Linked DNA regions of Homo sapiens: all the other regions are linked to region 1. The links are contacts of gene promoters, found by promoter capture Hi-C in blood cells and fetal thymus (Javierre and others, 2016). All regions are on one chromosome and are shown on one strand. The core of a region is centred on a gene start or on the middle of the fragment in contact, and the rest is flanking DNA. Distances in the headings are between cores, read along the strand shown. Region 1 holds the start of TIMP3 (TIMP metallopeptidase inhibitor 3). Region 2 overlaps FBXO7 (F-box protein 7). Region 3 overlaps SYN3 (synapsin III). Region 4 overlaps BPIFC (BPI fold containing family C).

What was found. The method cuts DNA at HindIII sites, captures the fragments that hold promoters and counts their contacts. A CHiCAGO score of 5 or more calls a contact.
Region 2: a contact is called between a fragment that was not itself captured here and the fragment with the promoter of TIMP3 in region 1, in 5 of 17 cell types (megakaryocytes, erythroblasts, M1 macrophages and 2 more). The highest score is 10.7, in megakaryocytes.
Region 3: a contact is called between a fragment that was not itself captured here and the fragment with the promoter of TIMP3 in region 1, in 1 of 17 cell types (M1 macrophages). The highest score is 5.4, in M1 macrophages.
Region 4: a fragment that was not itself captured here is called in contact with the fragment with the promoter of TIMP3 in region 1 in 1 of 17 cell types (M1 macrophages); the score reaches 5.7 in M1 macrophages.

Annotation. Positions count from the first base shown.
Region 1 is chr22:32,799,813-32,804,701 of GRCh38, reverse strand. TIMP3 (TIMP metallopeptidase inhibitor 3) reads right to left here and starts at 2,997. Exons shown (of 5, transcript NM_000362.5): 1 at 2,580-2,997. The coding sequence starts at 2,700. All of the region lies in intron 6 of SYN3 (synapsin III), which reads left to right. The HindIII fragment of the contact is 16,798 bases long and covers 1-4,889 here.
Region 2 is chr22:32,488,091-32,493,037 of GRCh38, reverse strand. It overlaps FBXO7 (F-box protein 7), which reads right to left. Exons shown (of 9, transcript NM_012179.4): 6 at 1,857-1,952. Among named protein-coding and RNA genes, the nearest start is that of FBXO7, 16 kb to the right of the region's middle. RefSeq lists an enhancer at 4,063-4,232. The HindIII fragment of the contact is 660 bases long and covers 1,727-2,386 here.
Region 3 is chr22:32,504,319-32,509,459 of GRCh38, reverse strand. It overlaps SYN3 (synapsin III), which reads left to right. Exons shown (of 14, transcript NM_003490.4): 14 at 1-1,640. Among named protein-coding and RNA genes, the nearest start is that of FBXO7, 32 kb to the right of the region's middle. The HindIII fragment of the contact is 6,268 bases long and covers 1-5,141 here.
Region 4 is chr22:32,419,719-32,425,197 of GRCh38, reverse strand. The region is part of intron 13 of BPIFC (BPI fold containing family C); the gene reads left to right. Among named protein-coding and RNA genes, the nearest start is that of RTCB, 10 kb to the right of the region's middle. The HindIII fragment of the contact is 168 bases long and covers 1,719-1,886 here.

The DNA of each region.
Region 1 (4,889 bases), core at 1,748-4,247:
CCTCCCCCAGAATGCCATGCCAGGCCCTAGGACTTTGGGGAAAAAAGACAAAAAGAGACACCTGTGGATGAGCAGAGACAGGAGGAAAGGCCATCGGGCAGCCCCCCGGAGAGGACCAGGCCAGGCCTCCTGTGCCTTTTGCTAGGCCAACATGGCACCAAGCCATGAAGAGAAAACCACCATGATGGTTTTAAAACAGGAAGTTGATGGGCTGATGTGAACACCTTTAGGGGGCTACAAAGTTGACTGGTGGGGTTGTGTGGGTCCCAAGGAATGGGGAGCTCCTTCATATTTGTTTGAGGGCGAGAATAGACAGTTTCAACCCAGACTGGAAACCAGAAAGGCTCTGAGCAATGAAACTTGGGAGCCAAGTACTGGACGCCAGCAGGGTGCTGTGCAAGGCGAGGGAGGTCGGCAGGCAAGCAGCTCACACCCACACCTCCCATTTTAAAAGCATTAGCTCATCCCTGCCACTAGTGCAGCTCACCAAACCCAGGCAGAACAATTTGGGATCCGTGCCAGAGCATCGAAGATTTTTTGTTTCTTTTTTTCTTTTTGATTCCACAATCTCCTGGTCTTTGGCTACTTCCTGGTAACTTAGATTTTCTCTGAGAAATTTATGAAGAGGAGCGAGGGAGCTATTTCTTGTTTCAATCCAGAGAAATTGTAAGAAACTTTCTGCATTGCTCAGACCCACCGCAGGAAACCTAAGCAGTAAGCAGACGGGAAGGCCCCCATTGGAAGCAGGATCTACTCATGCTTGTTTTCACTTTTCCGTGGTCAATTTTTAGGGTAGAAACCCCAAAGCAAAGGGCAAGGGGGAAGAATGGGGACCTACTCCCACTACATACCAAAAAAACGCAAGTGAAGTCACCCAGCCCATTTTCCAGCAGAAAAGGACTTGGGCTGCACCCCTGCACACCCTGATTCCACCTGCCAGCCTCCTGGCCGCACGTGTGTGATCCTGCTGGGCAAAACCAGAACTCAGCTGCAGCAGCAACTCCCCACACTAATCAGGTGGGAATGTTACCAACTGGGATGAGGAGGGAAAGGGTAAGTGGAATGTGGGTGGAGGTGGAGGAGGGAGGAAAACCCTCCCCAGTCTTCAGGCTGCCCAAAAGGATCTTTCTAAGCAATCCACAAATCCTGGGCCAGCTGGGTTCCCCCAGGAGAGGGGAGGATGTACCATGCAGGCCCCAGGGAGCCTCTTACAAGGGTGACCTCAGGTCACACAAACACCCTCAGCTGCCAACTGCACTGACATTCTGGTCACCACACCCCCACTCTGACCTCTAGGCTCAGCCCAGCCCACCAGCAGTGCCCCTCCCGGCCCTCACTGCCTCCCCTGCCAAGCTCCTACCTCCTCCCCCTCCTCACCACAACACGCTGGTAGAGTCCCTCACCCAAGACTCAGTGGAAAATTTCCTTCTCCTTTATGACTGTACTTAAAACACACACGCTCCATTCTTCACCTCTGAATCGACACAGGCAGAGGGCGGCAAGGCTGTCCCACCCCACCGCCCAGCCCAGCCCAGTGCACACACACACACTCTCCCAGCAGAGCCACTGGACTTGCACGCTTTATGGGCTGGAAAGGAGGAGAGAGATGTTTCCCAGATGCCACTCCACCTTTAGCCATCCAAACACAAGTGTCCCAAACACTCCCAGACAAGCCTCCCAGGATGCTCTCGGGGCCCTCCATACACACTAAGGAGTAGGAGGTCTCTTTACAGGGTCTCTCTACTCAAGACACTAAGTCCAGTCTGGAACTGTCACCGTGATGTGACCCTTGGCAGGTTTGTTCTTTTGGTGACAAATCTGTTTTCCACTACCCATTCTCCCCCTCCCCACACACATTCAAGGGGGAAAAAAATAGCCTTCCTGTGAATTTTCACAGCTATGTGGTGAGTGACCCCTCGCACCTTCTGCTGGCTATCAACACTCTCAAACACAGTGCCTCCAGGGCGTGGGTCAATGCCACAGCTTTCTCCTCATTTTCCCCCTTAAATCCACCCAAACTTGGCAGTCCCAGAAGCTCGGTTAGCGCTTGCCTGGGAAGCCTGCAGCTGGGTTGGGTCTCAGTGAAAAGAATGAATTTCATAGGCGCAGGAGATGATGCAGACTCGGAGTACTCCAAGTTTCTCCTGCAACTTTCCGTGCACATGGCGGGCAACTTTTTTTTTTTTTTTTAACTATTCAATTTCCCAGCACTTTAGTTAGCATTCCAAGTTTTGGGAACCCTTTCCCCACCCTTCTCTTCTAGCCCTTCCTCCGTTAGTAGTGAATGGGGACATTTTCCAGATGTCAAAAGGACCGGTAGGAACCTCACGACCTAAGTTAGGAAAGCAAAGGCGGCCAGGGGCTCCCTCAGCCACTGTGAGTTTCCTCTGCAGGGCATCTTCCCCTCTCAGCTATGCCAGCGCCCCCGCCCAAGGACATCGAGTTTCTCCACTCCGCCCCAACCCCGTCTGCCCCTCTCCTGGGGCAGAGGAAAGGAGTGGGGCTCGCCCTGCCTCCCTAAGCAGCGCTGCAGTCCTGGCTGCAGCGTGGGGCTCGGGCGGGGCACCAGGAGCGCTTACCGATGTCGGAGTTGCAGAAGGCGTCCTGGGGGTGGCTGGGCGAGCATGTGCACGCCTCGGCGCCCCAGTCCCCCAGGCTCCAGCTGCCCAGGAGCACGATGAGCCCGAGCCAAGGGGTCATTGCCGCTGCTGCCGCCGCTGCCGGGGCTGCTGCTCGCCTCTCCAAAGTTGCCGTGCGCGCCGCCGGCGGGGCTGCTGCAGCCCGAGCTCGCTCGCCCGCCGGGCCGTGCGGGGCAACCTTGGCCTCCGGCGCGCTGCCCTCCGAGTGCCCGGCGGGACGGGATGGGGCGCAGCGAGGCTGCCTCGGCGCTGGCGCAGGACTCGGCGGGCGGCCTCCCGGCGAAGGAGCAGGAGCTGGAGGAGCAAGAGGAGGAGGAGAAGCCGTCTGAGCGCCCGCCGCCTGCCTGCTGCCCGCTCTGCGCCGCTGCCTGGGCGGCCGAGTGATATAGCGCTGGGCCCCCGGGGACCCCGCCTCGGGCTGTTGGGGCCCGCCCCCTCAGACCAATGGCAGAGCCGCATTACCTCATCGGCCCTCCAAAAAGGGGGCGGGGCCGGGGGCAAGGGGTAACGGGGCGGGGCCGCCCCCGGATCGTTCAGATCCTTATAGGGAATAATGCCGCCGTGGGCACGCGAGTGGGTGGGCTGGGGCGCGCCCGGGACCGGTGCTTGCCGCTGGGTCCTCGGAGCGGAGCCCTCGTGCCCCTTCTCGTCTGCGCCCTGGCCCCACGCCCACCTGGGCCACTGGGTGTCTCTGACCCAAACCAGAACCAACTAACACCCACCCACCCCAGCAGGACCGCTTCCACAGGTGAGGGGTGGCCATGTCCTAGAGACCTTGACTGTGCTTGGTGGAACCAGCGGGGGAATGCTAACTGCTACCCCTCCAGTTTCTCTGGAGAGAGCAGGCACAGAGGAGAAAGACCCAAACTCTCTCTCTTTCTCTCTCTCTCTGGTTCTTACTCTCTGGGATATGGGAAGCCATCTGCTGTTTGCAGCTGGCTATGATATATGATAGAAGACTGTTTTCTGTGCTCTCCCAGAGCAAACGGGGTTCTGTATTCATTCAACAAACACGGTTCAGGATGCTGGGTTAAGCAACACAAAGCCCTTGCCCCCGTGGACATCCATGAATGCACAGGGTGATTTTCTGTGATGCTAGGGCTATGAAGAAAACAAAACAGAGTTCTGGGTTGGACATGACTGGGGAGGGCCTGCTCTCTCTGCGATAGTAAGGGAAGGGCTCCCTGAAGTGCCATCCTCGCTGAGAAGTGGACAAAGACAAGGATCAGCTCTGGGGCAAGCCACAGGAGAGAGGTACCAGGCAGGGGGAACAGCAAGTGCAAAGACCCTGGGCATGTTTGAAAGACAGAAAGTAGAAAGGCAAGAGGAAGTGGTTCCCTGCCCATGGCTGACAGAGCTCCACCCTTCAGCAAGGGATTTGGGGGTGAGCTGATCCAAAACTGTAGTAAAACCAGGAGAACGATCCAGGATCCTAGACGACTAGCTATAATAGATGATTGCAGATAACTAACACAATTACTATCCTTATTATTGACATCTTGATTCTGCTTTGTATTTTTAAAAGCAGGATTCTGTATCTCACCGTATTATAGCTCTCACAATAATCTTTGTGGGTAGGAAAAGCAAGCACAAGTATCACTCCCACTTTCCAGATGAGGAACCGGCACAGAAAGATGGGATGATTGGTGGCCAGCCAGGAACTCGTCACCCCTTTCCACTGCTCCTTCCCATCTGAAGAGAGACATGCATTTCCCTGAACGTCAGCAGCTGTTCCATCTAACTGCAAATGGCCATTTGCAGCTGGGATCTTCCATCTTTCTACACTTTTGTCTCTTTCCCTTTCTCTTCCGCTTCATCCTGTTAGAAATGCCACAAGTTTGGAACAAATAGAAACAGGGAGAAATGCAAGTTCAGCTTCTTTCTCAGAACTCCTCTGTTTACATCTCAGACAAGTGACATTGGGACAGCAGAGGCCGAAGAATTCGTGAGAGATGGTATTTCCAAGAACATTTTTGAAACTCCTTTTTCCCCTTTGAGCACTTTAGCCATAGGAAAGGGAAACCAGTTTCCACATCTTTTTGACTTGTCCCCTCCACCCAGCTTTAAAAACCTTCCCTGCCTTCACTCTAACTGTGGCCTAACTCGTAGAGATGTTTCTGTCTCTCGATGTTTTTCTAGCACTGTTTTCATTGTTTTATGGGGTATGATTCTATTGCTTCCCCAACCACAGTAGGAATACTTTGAGGCCTGGGATATTTAGCCACACTGCTTTTTAGCCCTCTCAGAACC
Region 2 (4,947 bases), core at 807-3,306, 310 kb after region 1:
CAACAAAGTTGCCACTTGTTCCTTTCTAAAGTGACAGAAAATTAGATGGTACTCTTAATTATCCCCAAGTATGCATCATCTACAACAAATTTTTAACCCCAGCTTGACTATAATTACTATTAACTCATATAACTCTAGGCCCTTATTCCCTTTATGTTTTAGTGGAAAGACAAATGCTTTTTAATATAAATCAAATAACTATGATAATTGCTAAATACTAGCCAATGGTCTCTTCTGTCTCAAACATTATTCAATACAACAAAATTTCTTCATTCAACTACAGAAAATGAATAATTCACTGGCTTTTATATCTGTTTCCATGCCAGTTATTAACTGTGTGCCTTTGGACAAGTTATTTAAATGCTATCTTAATTTCATCTGTAAAATGGATTAATATTACATTCCACCTACTTCAATGAGTTGTGAGAAGTAAATGTATTAACACATATTAAGTGCTTAGAACAATGTTTGGCACACCAAGCATAAGCACTCAAGTGTTAGCAAATTACTATTATCTGAAGTCTAGCAGGCTAAAAAGAGATAGATAAATTCAGAAACAAAGCCAAGAAAGGAAAGGAAAAATAATATGTCCCAAGTTCAATGAAAATTATGTTTTGGTTATTAGCACCTTCAAAATATTTGTGATACTATTCTCCACTAGCAAAAATAATCAAAATCCAACAGACATATCTACATGTTTTTCAATTGGCATTACTCCCTTTCCCTTATCACCAACTACAGAGAAGACTACTGTAATAATAGACATGCCACCATTCAACTTGACACCAAAAACGTTTTACTTATTTCTCTACATATAGAGAGCAAATAAAAGCCACTATCTATTCATATAAGTCAAACTACCTACTAGTTGGAGAATTGTGGTAGATTGTATTATGGTTCTCAATCACTTCCTACGCATAATTATACTTCCCCATCCCACCACCATCAGGCTTGGCCATTTTTGTCTTATTTTTTCTGACAAAACGTGAGTGGAAGTGACATATATAATTTCTGGGCAAAAGCGTTGAACCAACACATAATTGGGCCACTGGCACTCCTTTCCTTCTACTACAAGAGGAGCATGTCCTGGATAAAGACAACTCCTTCAGCCAAAGCAAACCCACACACAACATGTACACGAGTGAGAAGTAAATTTCACTGTAAGACACTGAGATTTTAATTTTTTTAACTGCAAAAAAATGAGAAGCTAATATAAGGATCTCGAGTGAATTATAAACCTTATTGAATTATGATTTCATCATCTATAAAATAAGTACCACATAATTTACTTCGAAGTCATTAGCAGTAAATAAGAATGCATGTGAAATATCCAACTAAGTGCCTGCAAAGAGCCTCCAATAAATGGTTTAAAAAAAAAAACTTAGATCCAATTACAGACCATGTATTATTTATATATGTCTATATAGACATATATATCTAAATATATGTCTATATAGACATATATATCTAAATATATGTCTATATAGACATATATATATGTATCTACACAGAGAGAAAGAGCATCTATTATGTACCTGACCTCATGCTAGACCACAAGAATACAAAAGTAAGATATATTCCCTACCTTCAAGGTATTCCCAACCTTAGGTGGAAAGAAATCATATCAACAATTATAGTCCATGGAAAAGAGACTACAATAAAAATATGTACAAAATGGCATGGAGATACAAAGATAAAGTAAATAGCACTTAAGGAATATTAAGCTTAGTCTTAGAAGAGGAACATTTCGCCAGGAGCAGAAAAGAGGGCAGTCAGATGTCATACTCACCAAGAATATTAAGTATACTTACTATTCTTTACAGTCATTTAAATTGTGACAGTATTTCATCTCTTACCTTGTCGGGTAAAAGCCAGAAGAGGATACACCAGCTGGTCTTTAAAGAGGCGAGAGAGTTTCTGAAGATCTTTGTATATGTTGGCTACATTTTCCCCTAGAATATTTTTTAAAGTAAAATCAAAACCCAAAATCAAGTGAAAAAACTGTCCTCTATTTCTGCCAAACCCAATCAACATGGTGAATAAATATTCACAAATAATTCACAAAGATAAGCATGAACCAAATTCCCTCATGGAAGAAGTACAGTGCAAGACTTGATGAAACTGAATCTTAGATATAAAAGCTAAAAATTCCATGATATCAAATTAGTAGAGCTGTGCCCAACCTCTCTAGCTCATAGGCTGCAGTTGTAGAAAAGACTTGTGAGAGATTCATACATACGAAGATTTCCTGATAGCTATCAATCTGTTCTGGGCACTAAGGATACAGTGGAGAACTGCTCCTGTTAACGCTTAGAACCTGGTAAATTAATAGCATTTATCGCATGATGACTATGTATCAGCACCTGTGTCAAGCGTTTTTCAAGCTTTCACATCAGAAGTTCTTTCCTAATTACTATCTCCATTTTAAAAACAGGTCAAGGTACAGAAAGCCTGTCCAAGGCCCCATGGTTAGTGGCAGAACAGTGCACAAACCCAAGTCCGTGTGGCTCAAAAGCACTCATTTTTAGTCACCACACTGCTACTCAACATGTGGGCGACAGATCACCAGAACTGACAATACCTGGAACTGTTTAGAACTACTGAATCTCAGGCCCCCACAGACCTACCAAATCAGAACCTATATTTTAATAAGATCCCCAGGTGACTCATAGTAAAGTACGGACGCACTAGCAAACTGCAGCCGAGGTTCCCACTTGTTTTGCTATTTACCAAGTGTATAGCCTTGGACAAATAACCTGCCCCTCTGATCCTCACCTTTTTGCTCAACTGTTTAAAGGAGACACCACCACTACACCAGATAAGCGTTGTTATAATTGAAAGCTCCACGAGCAGTGCCTAGGGTATCAGTAGGCAATTTATGCTTGCTCCTTCCCCATTTCATATTTATGTATTTCACTATCTATAACAAATAAAACACTCAGTATAACAGGATCGATAAGAAGAAGGAAAGAGATATGCAGCTAATGTCTAAATCTTTGTTGTGTGACTTGCAATCTTGAGTTGAAATTTGCTGTCAAGATATCATTCTTTAAAATCAATTTGGCTCAAGGGCTTTTTTCAAATGTGAAAATTGATTTTCTTTAAATGAATGTTTTCCTTCAGCAACCTGGTATGTAACTATTTAATTAGGAACTTATAAATAAAAGGATAAATAACAGTGCCTAGTTATAGTTACTAGGTGCTATGAACCACAGTAAAAATTCATTAAAATGACTTGCCAAATGAGCAGCATATTCCTACTCAACATAAGACTTTATTAAAAATACTTCATTATAACAGTCCATAAACTTGTAATTTAACAGTATTTAATGTTCCTCCTCCCTTCCATTTCATTTTTCTTTATTTAAGAGAAACCAGATAAAGAATAACAATCTGAGCTACATTCCTGTAAAAGTTGTTTTAAAAGGCTGGGAGTCAGCCAAATCTATTCCTATCCTGTATTTCACCATTTATTGGCTCTGTGACCCTTAAGTAAGTGAGCCTCCTCTAGATCTGTTTCCTGATCTATAAAATGGGCATAAAACCTCTACTGCTGTAAAGTGTAGAGTGTTTCTACTCCCCATAACAAGGTCCTCCCTATACGGTGATAAATATGGAGTGTCGTAGCCAAGGAATTTCAAGTTTTTCTGATCCTCATGATAAAAGCCATCTATACCAATTCATCAGTCCAGTTTATGCATTTCCAACAGGGGCAAAAACTGGTCCTTGACGGGTTAAAAAGAAAAACTATTATATTGGTTTGTGATCCTTCAAAGGGTCACAGTACATAAATAAAACATACTATATTTGTGGTATGAAATTTCATGAAGGAGAGAGATTGAGGGGAAAATCTCCAACGGCTCCTTTGGGAAGTGAGAATAAAAAGATTGAGAAACTCTGGCCTAGTCTGACATTAAATGTTCAACTCGGTCGGGCGCAGTGGCTCATGCCTGTAATCCCAGCACTTTGGGAGGCCGAGGCGGGCAGATCACAAGGTCAGGAGTTCGAGACCAGCCTGGCCAATATGGTGATACCCTGTCTCTACTAAAAATAAAAAAAAATTGGCTGGGCGTGGTGGTGTGCGCCTGTAGTCCATCTACTCAGGAGGCTGAGGCAGAAGAATTGCTTGAACCCAGGAGGTGGAAGTTGAAGTGAGCCGAGATAGCGCCACGGCACTCCAGCCTGGCGAAAGAGCAAGACTCCGTCTCAAAAAAAAAATTCAATTCAGCTAATTCCCAATTTCTGACTCTACATCCAATCAGAGACCGTTATAAATATGTATTCTGCTATCTCCTTTTCCTGTCAGTTTTAGTTAGTATAAGTCAATCTCTCAGGGCTGATCTCCCCTAGGAATGAACAAGAATAAGCCTTTAGGCCTTCAAAGCAACAATGTCAATCTAGCCAGCCTTTCCTAAAGGACTGCTATAAATGCCATCTTCCCATTGTACCACAACATTCCCACTAGGCTCTTAAAACCCTCCTAAGTTTACTAAGAAGATTAAATGGAATAACATATGTACAGGCACAAGTACAGAATGAAACAGGCACTTAAAAAATGTCAGTTCCCCTCTCCACCTTATCTCTTCTGCTCCAACCACCTATAACTGCCTCTCACAGTTTGGTTTAACTGAAAAATGATAAAAGGGAAAACCTGTCTTCTTTGTATCTATTAATAATTTTATAGAGTTTAAGCAAAACCTTACCTAGAATGCAAACCTTTGGTAAAGTATCAATCTGTATAAAATAGCCATCAAATTTATATAGGTTTAAACAAACATTTTGATTGTAGTTTTTCCTCCAATAATCTTCAATAATGAACTTGACATTGAATTACTTTCATGAAACACAGATCCCCTCCATATTGGTTAAATACCAATATGGAGATCTCAATAGGGAGATCTCCAAAGATTAGTACAGAAACTATGAACTATCATCAGAGTGTAATAA
Region 3 (5,141 bases), core at 1,012-3,511, 290 kb after region 1:
CCTTCCAAACATGTAACCTTTAATAATTGTGACATTTTGAAATGGGAAAGGGCAAAAAGGAGGGAGAGGGGAGTCATGCTGTATAGACTCTAAAATGTTATGTTTGTTGTTTTTCTTGCTTTGTTTCACAACTTTGAGCCAGAGAGAGGCTAGCATTTTCCCTCCAAGCTGACTCGGGGAAGCTGAAACACAACAAAGACCTATTTGATTTGTTCACAATGAACAGGGATTTAAAAACGCAGCCTTAGCGGACAGCTCTACCAGCCACAGAAAAGTTCTTCCAGATCTTCCTCCCGTCAGCGCGATAAAATGGTACCGTACTTTGGTTAAATGTAAAATCAGCTTTCCAGGAACAGTGGCATATCCTTTCTCTTCCATCAGTTCCCTAGATTCTCTTCATTACTACATTCTCTAGCCTAACATTCCGTCCCTGCTGAATTAACTAATATTCAGATACATTCAAGATAGAACTAACACTCAATTCTATCTTTCCAAAATTTAAGGGGATGATAGGTCTTCACTCACATGGTAACAAACACAGCAGCAAACCCCATAAAACTGAACATCAACTGCCTTCTGGAAGTTCTCATCTGGCAAGCTAGTGCAGGTATCTTGTGCATGGGTCAAGAGAGTGAAGCTCAGAGCACATTGCTTGGCACCCAGCAGGTGTTCAGGACATGTTTTAGCTCAGCCCTCCTAGAAAACTATGAAATAAAATCCAAACAAAAGTATTAAGATTGAAGTAAAAAGATGTTTTTCTAAGAGTATCAATATATGGAAGTCACTTGCCCAGGAACAGAATCAAACAAACCAAAACCCAGTAAAATGAGATAGAGAAAAGAAGCGGAAGAAGATCAATGGCAGGTTTTCAACCTCAAAAAGACCTCTTCCAAACTGAATCTGAAGAGGAATGGGAGGAGGCAGAATGAGAACATGAGACCTCTCCTTGGGGCCCCTTTCATGCGCGTCTGTGTGAAGAGACCACTAAACAGGCTTTGTGTGAGCAACATGGCTGTTTATTTCACCTGGGTGCAGGCCGGATGAGTCCGAAAAGAGAGTCAGCAAAGGGAGTAGGGATGGGGCCGTTTTATAGGATTTGGGAAGGTAATGGAAAATTACATGCAAAGGGGGTTGTTCTCTGGTGGGCAGGGGCGGGGGTCACAAGGTGCTCAGTGCGGGAGCTTCTGAGCCAGAAGAAGGAAATTTACAGGGTTAATCACTCAGTTAAGGTGGGGCAGGAACAAATCACAATGGTGGAATGTCATCAGTTAAGGCGGGGCAGGGCCTTTTCACTTCTTTTGTGATTCTTCAGTTACTTCAGGCCATCTGGGCGTATACGCGCAAGTCACAGGGGATGCGATGGCTTGGCTTGGGCTCAGAGGCCTGACATTCCTGCCTTCTTATATTAATAAGAAAAATAAAACAAAATAGTGTTGAAGTGTTGGGGCGACGAAAATTTTTGGGGGGTGGTATGGAGAGAGAATGGGCGATGTTTCTCAGGGCTGCTTCGAGTGGGATTAGGGGCGGCGTGGGAACCTAGAGTGGGAGAGATTAAGCTGAAGGGAGGTCTCGTGGTAAGGGGTGATATTGTGGGGATGTTAGAAGAAACATTTGTTGTGTAGAATGATTGGTGACGGCCTGGATATGGTTTTGTATGAATTGAAAAACTAAATGGAATAAGAAGGAGAAAAACAGGTATAAAAGGTCTAAGAATTGGGAGGACCTAGGACATCTGATTAGAGAGTGCCTAAGGAGATTCAGCATAGTCCTGCCAGCAAAGATTATTTATTTACTTCAAGAGTTAAAAGTGGCAGTTTGGGGATAGCACGAGGAGATATCAGCTGTGATGGCTTGGAGAAACAGTGTAAACTGGCAGTGTAAACAAGAGCAGGGCATGTATGAGTAGTTGAGAACGGAGAATAGGAGTATGACTAGACAGAAGATAGTAGGGATGACAAGTTTTTTTTGGGGGCACAGTCTAAGTTGGTCTGGTGTCTGGAATGAGACTGGGGCCTAATAAAAAGGAGCATCTATACAGGAGCTTAAATGGGCTGTACCTTGTAGCATTCTGAGGACAGGCCTGAATTCTGAGAAGCGAAAGTGGTAAAAGTATTGTCCAGTCCTTTTTAAGTTGGTGGCTGAGCTTGGTGAGGTGTGTTTTTAAAAGACCTTTAGTCCGTTCTACTTTTCTTGAAGATAGAGGACCGTAAGGGATATAAAGGTTTCACTGAATACTAAGAGCCTGAAAAACTAATTGGCTGATTTGACTAATAAAGGCTGGTCTGCTATCAGACTGTATAGAGGTGGGAAGGCTAAACTGAGGAATTATGTCTGACAGAAGGGAAGAAATGACTGTGGTGGCCTTCTCAGACCCTGTAGGAAACGCCTTTACTTATTCAGTGAAAGTGTCTATTTAGACTAAGAGGTATTTTAGTTTCCTGACTCGGGCATGTTGAGTAAAGCTAATTTGCCAGTCCTGGGTGGGGGCAAATCCTGGAGCTTGATGTGTAGGGAAGGGAGGGGGCCTGAATAATCCCTGAGGAGTAGTAGAATAGCAGATGAAACACTGAGAAGTTATTTCCTTGAGGATAGATTTCCACGATGGAAAGGAAATGAGAGGTTCTGAGAGGTGGGCTAGTGGCTTGTACTATAGCATAGCCTGGCTTTGCTGGTGTGTGGCGATTAGGCCTGGTGGAACTGCCATCAAAAAATCAAGCGTGATCAGGGTGAGGAACAGGAAAGAAGGAAATATGGGGAAATGGGGTGAGTATCAGGTGGATCAGAGAGATACAGTCATGGGGGTCAGGTGTGGTATCAGGAATAATGTGGGAGGCCAGATTGAAGTCCCGGCCAGGAACAATGGTAATTGTGGGACTTAACAAAGAGTGAGTACAGCTGAAGGAGCCGGGGAGCAGAAAGTATATGCGTCAGGTATGAGGAAGAAAATAGATTTTGGAAGTTATGAGAAATGTAGAGAGTGAGTTGAGCATAGTTTGTGATTTTTAGGGCCTCTAAAAGTATTAAAGCAGCGGCAGCCGCTGCACGCAGACATGAGGGCTAGGCTAAAACAGTAAGGTCAAGTTGTTTGGACAGAAAGGCTGCAGGACGCAGTCCTGGCTCTTGTGTAAGAATTCTGACCGCACTAACCATGCCTAGGAAGGAAAGGAGTTGTTATTTTGTAAGGGATTGAGGTTTGGGAGATTAATCGGACACGATCAGCAGGGAAAGCACGTGTGTTTTTATGAGAATTATGCCGAGATAGGTAACAGATGAGGATGAAATTTGGGCTTGACTGAAGTAATGGGGGCTGTCTATGAAGTCTTGCAGTAGTACAGCCTAGGTAATTTGCTGAGCCTAATGGGTGTCAGGGTCAGTCTAAGTGAAAGCAAAGAGAGGCTGGGACGAGGGGTGCAGGGGAATAGTGAAGAAAGCATCTTTACGATCAAGCACGGAATAGTGAGTTGTGGAGGGAGGTATTGAGGACAAAAGAGTGTACGGGTTGGGCCCCACAGGGGGGATAGGCAAAACAATTTGGTTGATACGGTGCAGATCCTGAACTAACTTGTAAGGCTTGTCTGGTTTTAGGACAGGTAAAATAGGGGAATTGTAAGGAGAGTTTATAGGCTTTAAAAGGCCATGCTGTAGCAGGCGAGTGATAACAGGCTTTAATCCTTTTAAAGCGTGCTGCGGGATGGGATATTGGCGTTGAGTGGGGTAAGGGTGATTAGGTTTTAATGAGATGGTAAGGGGTGCACGATCGGTCGCCAAGGAGGGAGTAGAGGTATCTTATACTTGTGGGCTAAGGTGGGGGGATACAAGAGGAGGACGCAAAGGAGGCTTTGGATTGGGAAGAAGGGCGGCAATGAGATATAGATGTAGTCCAGGAATAGTCAGGGAAGCAGATAATTTAGTTAAAGTGTCTCAGCCTAATAAGGGAACTGGGCAGGTGGGGATAACTAAAAAGGAGTGCTTAAAAGAGTATTGTCTAAGTTGGCACCAGAGTTGGGGAGTTTTAAGAGGTTTAGAAGCCTGGCCGTCAATACCCACAACAGTTATGGAGGCAAGGGAAACAGGCCCTTGAAAAGAAGGTAATGTGGAGTGGGTAGCCTCCGTATTGATTAAGAAGGGGACGGACTTACCCTCCACCGTGAGAGTTACCTAAAGCTCGGCATCCGTGATGGTCTACGGGGCTTCTGAGGCGATCAGGCAGCATCAGTCTTCAGCCGGTAAGTCAAGAAGGAGTCAGTCAGAGAACCTTGAGCCAGAGTTCCAGGGGCTCTGGGAGTGGCTGCCAGGTGAGTTGAACAGTCCGATTTTCAGTGGGGTCCCGCACAGATGGGACGCGGCTTAGGAGGAATCCCGGGCTGCGGGCATTCCTTGGCCCAGTGGCCAGATTTCCGGCGCGTGTAGCAAGCTCCTGGGGGAGGAGGTTCCGGAGGAACGCCTGGTTGCGTTTGGAAGTTCTTGTGTGCTGGAGATGTGACTGGGGATTGTCTCACAGTGGAGGCAAGGAATTGCAACTTTTTTCTGTTATTGCACACCTTGAAGGTGAGGTTAATTAAGTCCTGTTGTGGGGTTTGAGGGCCAGATTCCAATTTTTGGAGTTTTATTTAATGTTGGGAGCAGATTGGGTAATAAAATGTATATTGAGAATAAGACGGCCTTTTGACCTTTTAGGGTCTAGGGCTGTAAAGCGTCTCAGGGTCGCTGCCAAACAAGTCATGAACTGGGCTGGATTTTTATATTTGATGAAAAAGAGCCTAAACGCTATCTGATTTGGGATAAAGAAAAAGGAGCATTAACCTTGACTATGCCTTTAGCTCTCCAGCCACCTTTTTAAGAGTAAATTGCTGGGCAGGTGGGGGAGGGCTAGTCACGGAACGAAACTGTAAGCCGGATCAGGTGTGAGGGGAGGCGATAAAAAGATTATAGGGTGGAGGAGCAGAGGCTGAGGAAGAATTGGGACCTAGCTTGGCCTGGCAAGGAGCAGGCTGGGGAGGAAGGGAGAGGTCAGATGGGTCTGTAGAAAAGGAAGATTAGAAAGACTCAGCGACGCTTGGGGTTGGGACTGAGGGGACAGGCGGGAGATTTGGGACGAGTTGCACTGGGCACAGAGACTAGGAAGGGACTGATGTGTAAAA
Region 4 (5,479 bases), core at 553-3,052, 380 kb after region 1:
ATGGCTGAGCCAGAACTTGAACCTGGGTGAGTCCGCTTTCAAAGCAGTGAGTATTTACTTACCACAGTATACTGCCTTTGATGTAGTGAAGAGCTTTGACTTAGAAAATAAGGCAAGGCCAGGCGTGGTGGCTCACGCCTATAATCTCAGCACTTTGGGAGGCCGAGGCAGGTGAATCATCTGAGGTCAGGAGTTCGAGACCAGCCTGGCCAACATGGTGAAACTCCATCTCTACTAATAATACAAAAATTAGCTGGGCATGGTGGTGCATGCCTGTAATCCCAGCTACTCTGGAGGCTGAGGCAGGAGAATCGCTTGAATGCAGGAAGCGGAGGTTGCAGTGAGCCGAGATCACACCACTGCACTCTAGCCTGGGCGACAAGAGCAAAACTCCGTCTCAAAAAAAAAGGAAGAAGAAGAAGAAGAAGAAGAAGAAGAAGAAGAGGAAGAAGAAGAGGAAGAAGAAGAGGAAGAAGAAGAGGAAGAAGAAGAGGAAGAAGAAGAGGAAGAAGAAGAAGAAGAAGAAGAAGAAGAAGAAGAAGAAGAAGAAGAAGAGAAGAAGAAGAAGAGGAGGAGGAGGAGGAGGAGGAGGAGGAGAAGAAGAAGAAGAAGAAGAAGAAGAAAGAAAATAACACTTAAGATTTAGGAAATAAATACCTTTATACCCTTGCCTGGAAGAGGAAACCCATAAGCATGGAGTCACGCTAAGTTGAAACAGGCAGCATGCCCTTTTTCAATATTCAGCATTGATAAAAGAAAGAGAAAACACTGGAACTGGTTGTGCTGAAATAGAAAAAAACACACAGCACTTTTGTCACCGCATCAAGGAATCAAGGGGAGAAAATGGTGAAGAAAGTAAAAAACTAGCAATTCTAATAATACACTTGAACTCTTTGAGCATGTCTAGTTAAGAGCACAGTCTCTGGAGTCAGGCATATCTGGATTTGAATTCTACCTCTGCCACTTGCTACCTAGTGACCTTAAGCAAGTTACTTAACCTCGTTAAGTATCAGTTTCCTCATTAGCAAAACAGAACACCCCTCCATAGGGTTGTTGTATGGGTGGATGAGATAATGTATGTAAATCACTTAGCACAACAGTCAGCATATAGTCATTGATCCAGAAATATTTGTTCCTAGTAGTACTAGTATTTCATTCTTTTTCCCCATTCTAAGATCAAATTTTGACCAAATAACAGGGAGAAACTGATCCCAAGAGACATGACAAGTCAGGATGGTTTTTAAAGCTGTGGAGTTTTAAACCAGACTCACTGCTCTATTTACAATTGAGAGTTGTTCCAAACATACTTCTCTTTGGAGGCAACCTCAGTACAGTTTGGCCCACATAGTAGACATATTTTAGATTACTTCAGAGGCCAAGTTAAATGACACTTTCCCTTTTTTGGTCTTCATCCAGATCACTTAATTCTAACCCTCTTTTCTTAATCCCATGCAAAGCTCAAGGCAATCAGATGTACGTTACTGTTGAGCCATCTATAACTTAGGAGGTTTTTTTGTTTTTTTTTTGACATTGCATTGATTGAGACTTTGGACACTCCAAATTGAACTCCACCATCAACACACATCCACAACACACACACACACACACACACACACACACCCACACCCTACAACTCCTCCCAAGCAACATAGCGAGAGAATGCAAATATAGCTGACTACAAGCAGATGGAATCACTACCTAACTCTACTCCTCAAGCTTGGGCATATAAACAATTCCCAATGATGGACAAGTCAGTGGAGCTCAGACTTGGCACCTGGGCTGACCCCCCCAACTCCACCCTTCCTCTGAACTACTCTTGAAGCCATGGCAGAAGAATGCCACAGTGGGGTAGCCCCTGCCAGAGGAGGAAACCCCAAATGGAAGCTTCTTCCAGAATTTCCAGGCTGCAGGAAACAATGAAATTCAAACATTGGATAACTCTTACTCATCAAAAGGGTCCTTTAATAGTGGAATGGGTTCAACACATTCTTCCCTTTAAAACTTTTCATCATTGGATTAAATCCACCGTCTGAGGTTTTCAAGCTCTTCATCCACTGGTCCTACTTCTCAAGCCGGCCAACCTTATCTTCCTAAGCTCACTAAAATGAACATTCTGCTTTAGACTGGCTCACCTTCAAAGTGACCCCAATTCCAACAAACACTCCCCAACCCATGTCCTTCATCCGCTCATTTATCCACACATCCATTCAGTAAGAATTTACTGAGAACCTATTATGTGCTTTGCACTGTTTTTAACACAGAAGGACAATGGTTTCTATTTTCCCAGTCCACAGCCTGGTGGGAGAAACAGTACTGGGTGCCAAGGACATGCTAGAGATGTGTACAGAGTCTTCTCTCAAAGGGAAACTTGTTTTCCCCCCATGATATGCCCCATATCACATACACATGCATGCTCACACACACACATACACACACACAACTCTAGCCTACGCTGGTTTCTTCATCTTTTCGCACTCTCTTTTTTTTTTCAAAACGTAGTCTTGCTCTGTCGCCCAGACTGAAATGCAGCGGTATGATCTTGGCTCACTGCAACCCCTGCCTCCCAGTTTTAAGCAATTCTCCTGCCTCTGCCTCCCGAGTAGCTGGGGATTACTGGCACGTGCCACCATGCCTGGCTAATTTTTGTAATTTTAGTAGAGATGGGGTTTTGCTATGTTGGCCAGGCTGGTCTCGAACTCCTGACTTCAGGTGATCCACCCGTCTCAGCCTCCCAAAGTGCTGGGATTACAGGTGTGAGCCACCGCGCCCAGCTTCACACCCTTTTTAGAGTCTCTGCAGCAAGTCTGTATGGTGTGTAAACCCATGAAGAAGCACCTGAGTATACCTTGCTTTGTGTTGTTCTCTACCTTCTACAAACGACTTCTCTCCATCCCTCATAATTATAGGTAGAGGTTAAATTCTTCACATTGCCTCGCACATTCCTGAGCACAGAATGAGCACCTGGGTAACCTGTTGGCCTGCTGTTCTTTTCTCCATGCTGCAGCCAGAGTGATCTTTATAAAACACAGACATCATCTCCTTTCTTAAAAAACCTTCATTGGATTTCTTGCTCTGAGGATAAAAAATGAAAATCGTAACACAGCCAGAGGCACTGAGCCTAGTCAATCCTGTCTGCCTCTCGCATCGCCCTGCTGTGCTCTCCCAGCTCTCAGTTCCCTCCGTGGGGCTTTTGCAACCCCTGCCTGGAACCCTCCCCACTCCGTTCCCCATTCTGCCTTTTGAATCTTATTCATCCTTCATATTTCAGCTCAAGCAGCCCTCCCCTGGAAACCTTCCTACATCTACCAAATGAAATCAAGTTCCTCTTTGTATTTTGACTCCACGAAATTGTTTCTTTCCTTAAGAGCATTTATCTCAATTGTAATTAAACCTTAATTAGTGGGATGATTTGATTAATGATTGCCACCCCACTAGGTGGTAAGCTACATGAGAACAGTGGTTGTGTCTAGTTTTGCTCACAAGGCTGCTATCTCTAGCACCTGTCCCAGTGCTGACACATAATAAATATTTGCTGGATGACCCAATCAATGAATAAGTGAACATTAAGTACCTCTGTACTCAATCCTAGGAATACAAGAATTTTGATCAGGAGAGTATCTCTATCAGACATGCCTGTAACGTAGCTTCCCCTGGGGATGGTGTAGAAGATGGATTGGAAAGGGTCAATAGTGGAAACAGGGAGATTTGTTAGAAGGCTGATGCAGAAGTAGGGCTCTAGACCTGGGCAAAAGTGAGCCATAGAAAGCTAAGAGGAAAAGCAAGATACGAAAAAGAGAGCTCTGGGATGGGCATCAGGAGATCTGAGTCCCAGTAACAAATCTGCCGTTAATATTTCTCCTCTTTGACCTTCAGTTTCTCCCTCTGCAAAATGAAGGAGTCTTCTCTATTCATTACTATTTCTTCATAGTATCATTATTATTGCATAGAAAAATCAACTGTGTATATTGGGAGGACTACTTATGGATCAGCTCTTGGCAAAATTGGGAAACAGACAACGTTGACCTTGAGTTTTCTTATGAAAATTCCCATAAAATATCAAGCAACAGGACACGCTGTCACTCAGCCTTACCAAGCTGGGAGAGGGGTCAGGGAGGAGGACTCCCTTCTACTTGGACCTACAGCAAGTGCTCTGTTGATATTTGAAAAAGAACATCAAGGACATTATGTGCTGTTATAACTGTTAGCATTTCTCTTCCTAATAAAAATGGCTCATATTCAGAGTGATAAGGATATGCTAGGCACAGTTCTAAGCATTTTATGTGCATCATTTCATTCAATTTTCACTACAGCCCTGCGAGGCAGGTATTGTTCTTTTTTAATTGTATTGTTTAATGGACATATCGTAATTTTACATTCATGGAGTACCTAGTGATGTTTCAATGTGTATCAATGTATAGTGATCAGATCAAGGCAATTAGCGTGTCTATTATCTCAAACATTTGTCATTTATTTGTGTTGAGGCTGTTCTATCTTCCCTCTAGCTATTTGAAACTACACAATATATTATTGTTAACTATAGTCATTTCACATATTCTTATTCATATTTCATAGTTGAGAAAATTAAGATCCAGAGAGATTAAGTAAATCTACAGAGTTAAGAAGAGGCAGAAATGGGGTTACTAACAATTATACTGTACCTTTCACATCAGATAGCTTTCTTAGCTAATGCTTCCCTTATCTGCAACGATTGAACAGCTAAAAAAATGGTGTGAGTGATGTGGCTTTCTGATGGGTGTGGCCTAGACTGGTCATAGAATTTAGTGTCAAGTAGACTGGGATTATAAAGGCTCAGGGAAGTTACAAGGCTGAGGCTGAGTTCAGAGCCAGAAACCTGAAAACTATTTTTTTTTTTTTTTTTTGAGACGGAGTCTTGCTCTGTCACCCAGGCTGGAGTGCAGTGGCGCGATCTCTGCTCACTGCAAGCTGTGCCTCCCGGGTTCACACCATTCTCCTGCCTCAGCCTCCCGAGTAGCTGGGACTAGAGGTGCCCACCACCATGTCCTGCTAATTTTTTGTATTTTTTAGTAGAGATGGGGTTTCACCGTGTTAGCCGGGATGGTCTCGATCTCCTGACCTCATGATCCGCCCGCCTCGGCCTCCCAAAGTGCTGGGATTACAGGCTTGAGCCACCATGCCCGGCCAAAACTGTTTCTTAAGATTGTTCTACATTCCAAGTTGCCAACATTAAGTTCCGTGTAGCAAACGCCCTTGGGGAACCCACCCTGGTTACAAATCCAAGCCCTAAACTATTCCTGCTCTGCTTCTTAAGCAGCAAAATATAGGGGTAGAAGATGTAATAGAACTCGATGTCTTCCCAGTTTTATTTGTGTGTGTGTGTTTTATTTTTATCTGTTTTTTTTTTTTTTTTTTTTTGACAGGGTCTCACTCTGATACCCAGGCTGGAGTGCAGTGGCATGATCTTGGCTCACTGTAGCCTCCACCTCCCAGGTTCAAGCAA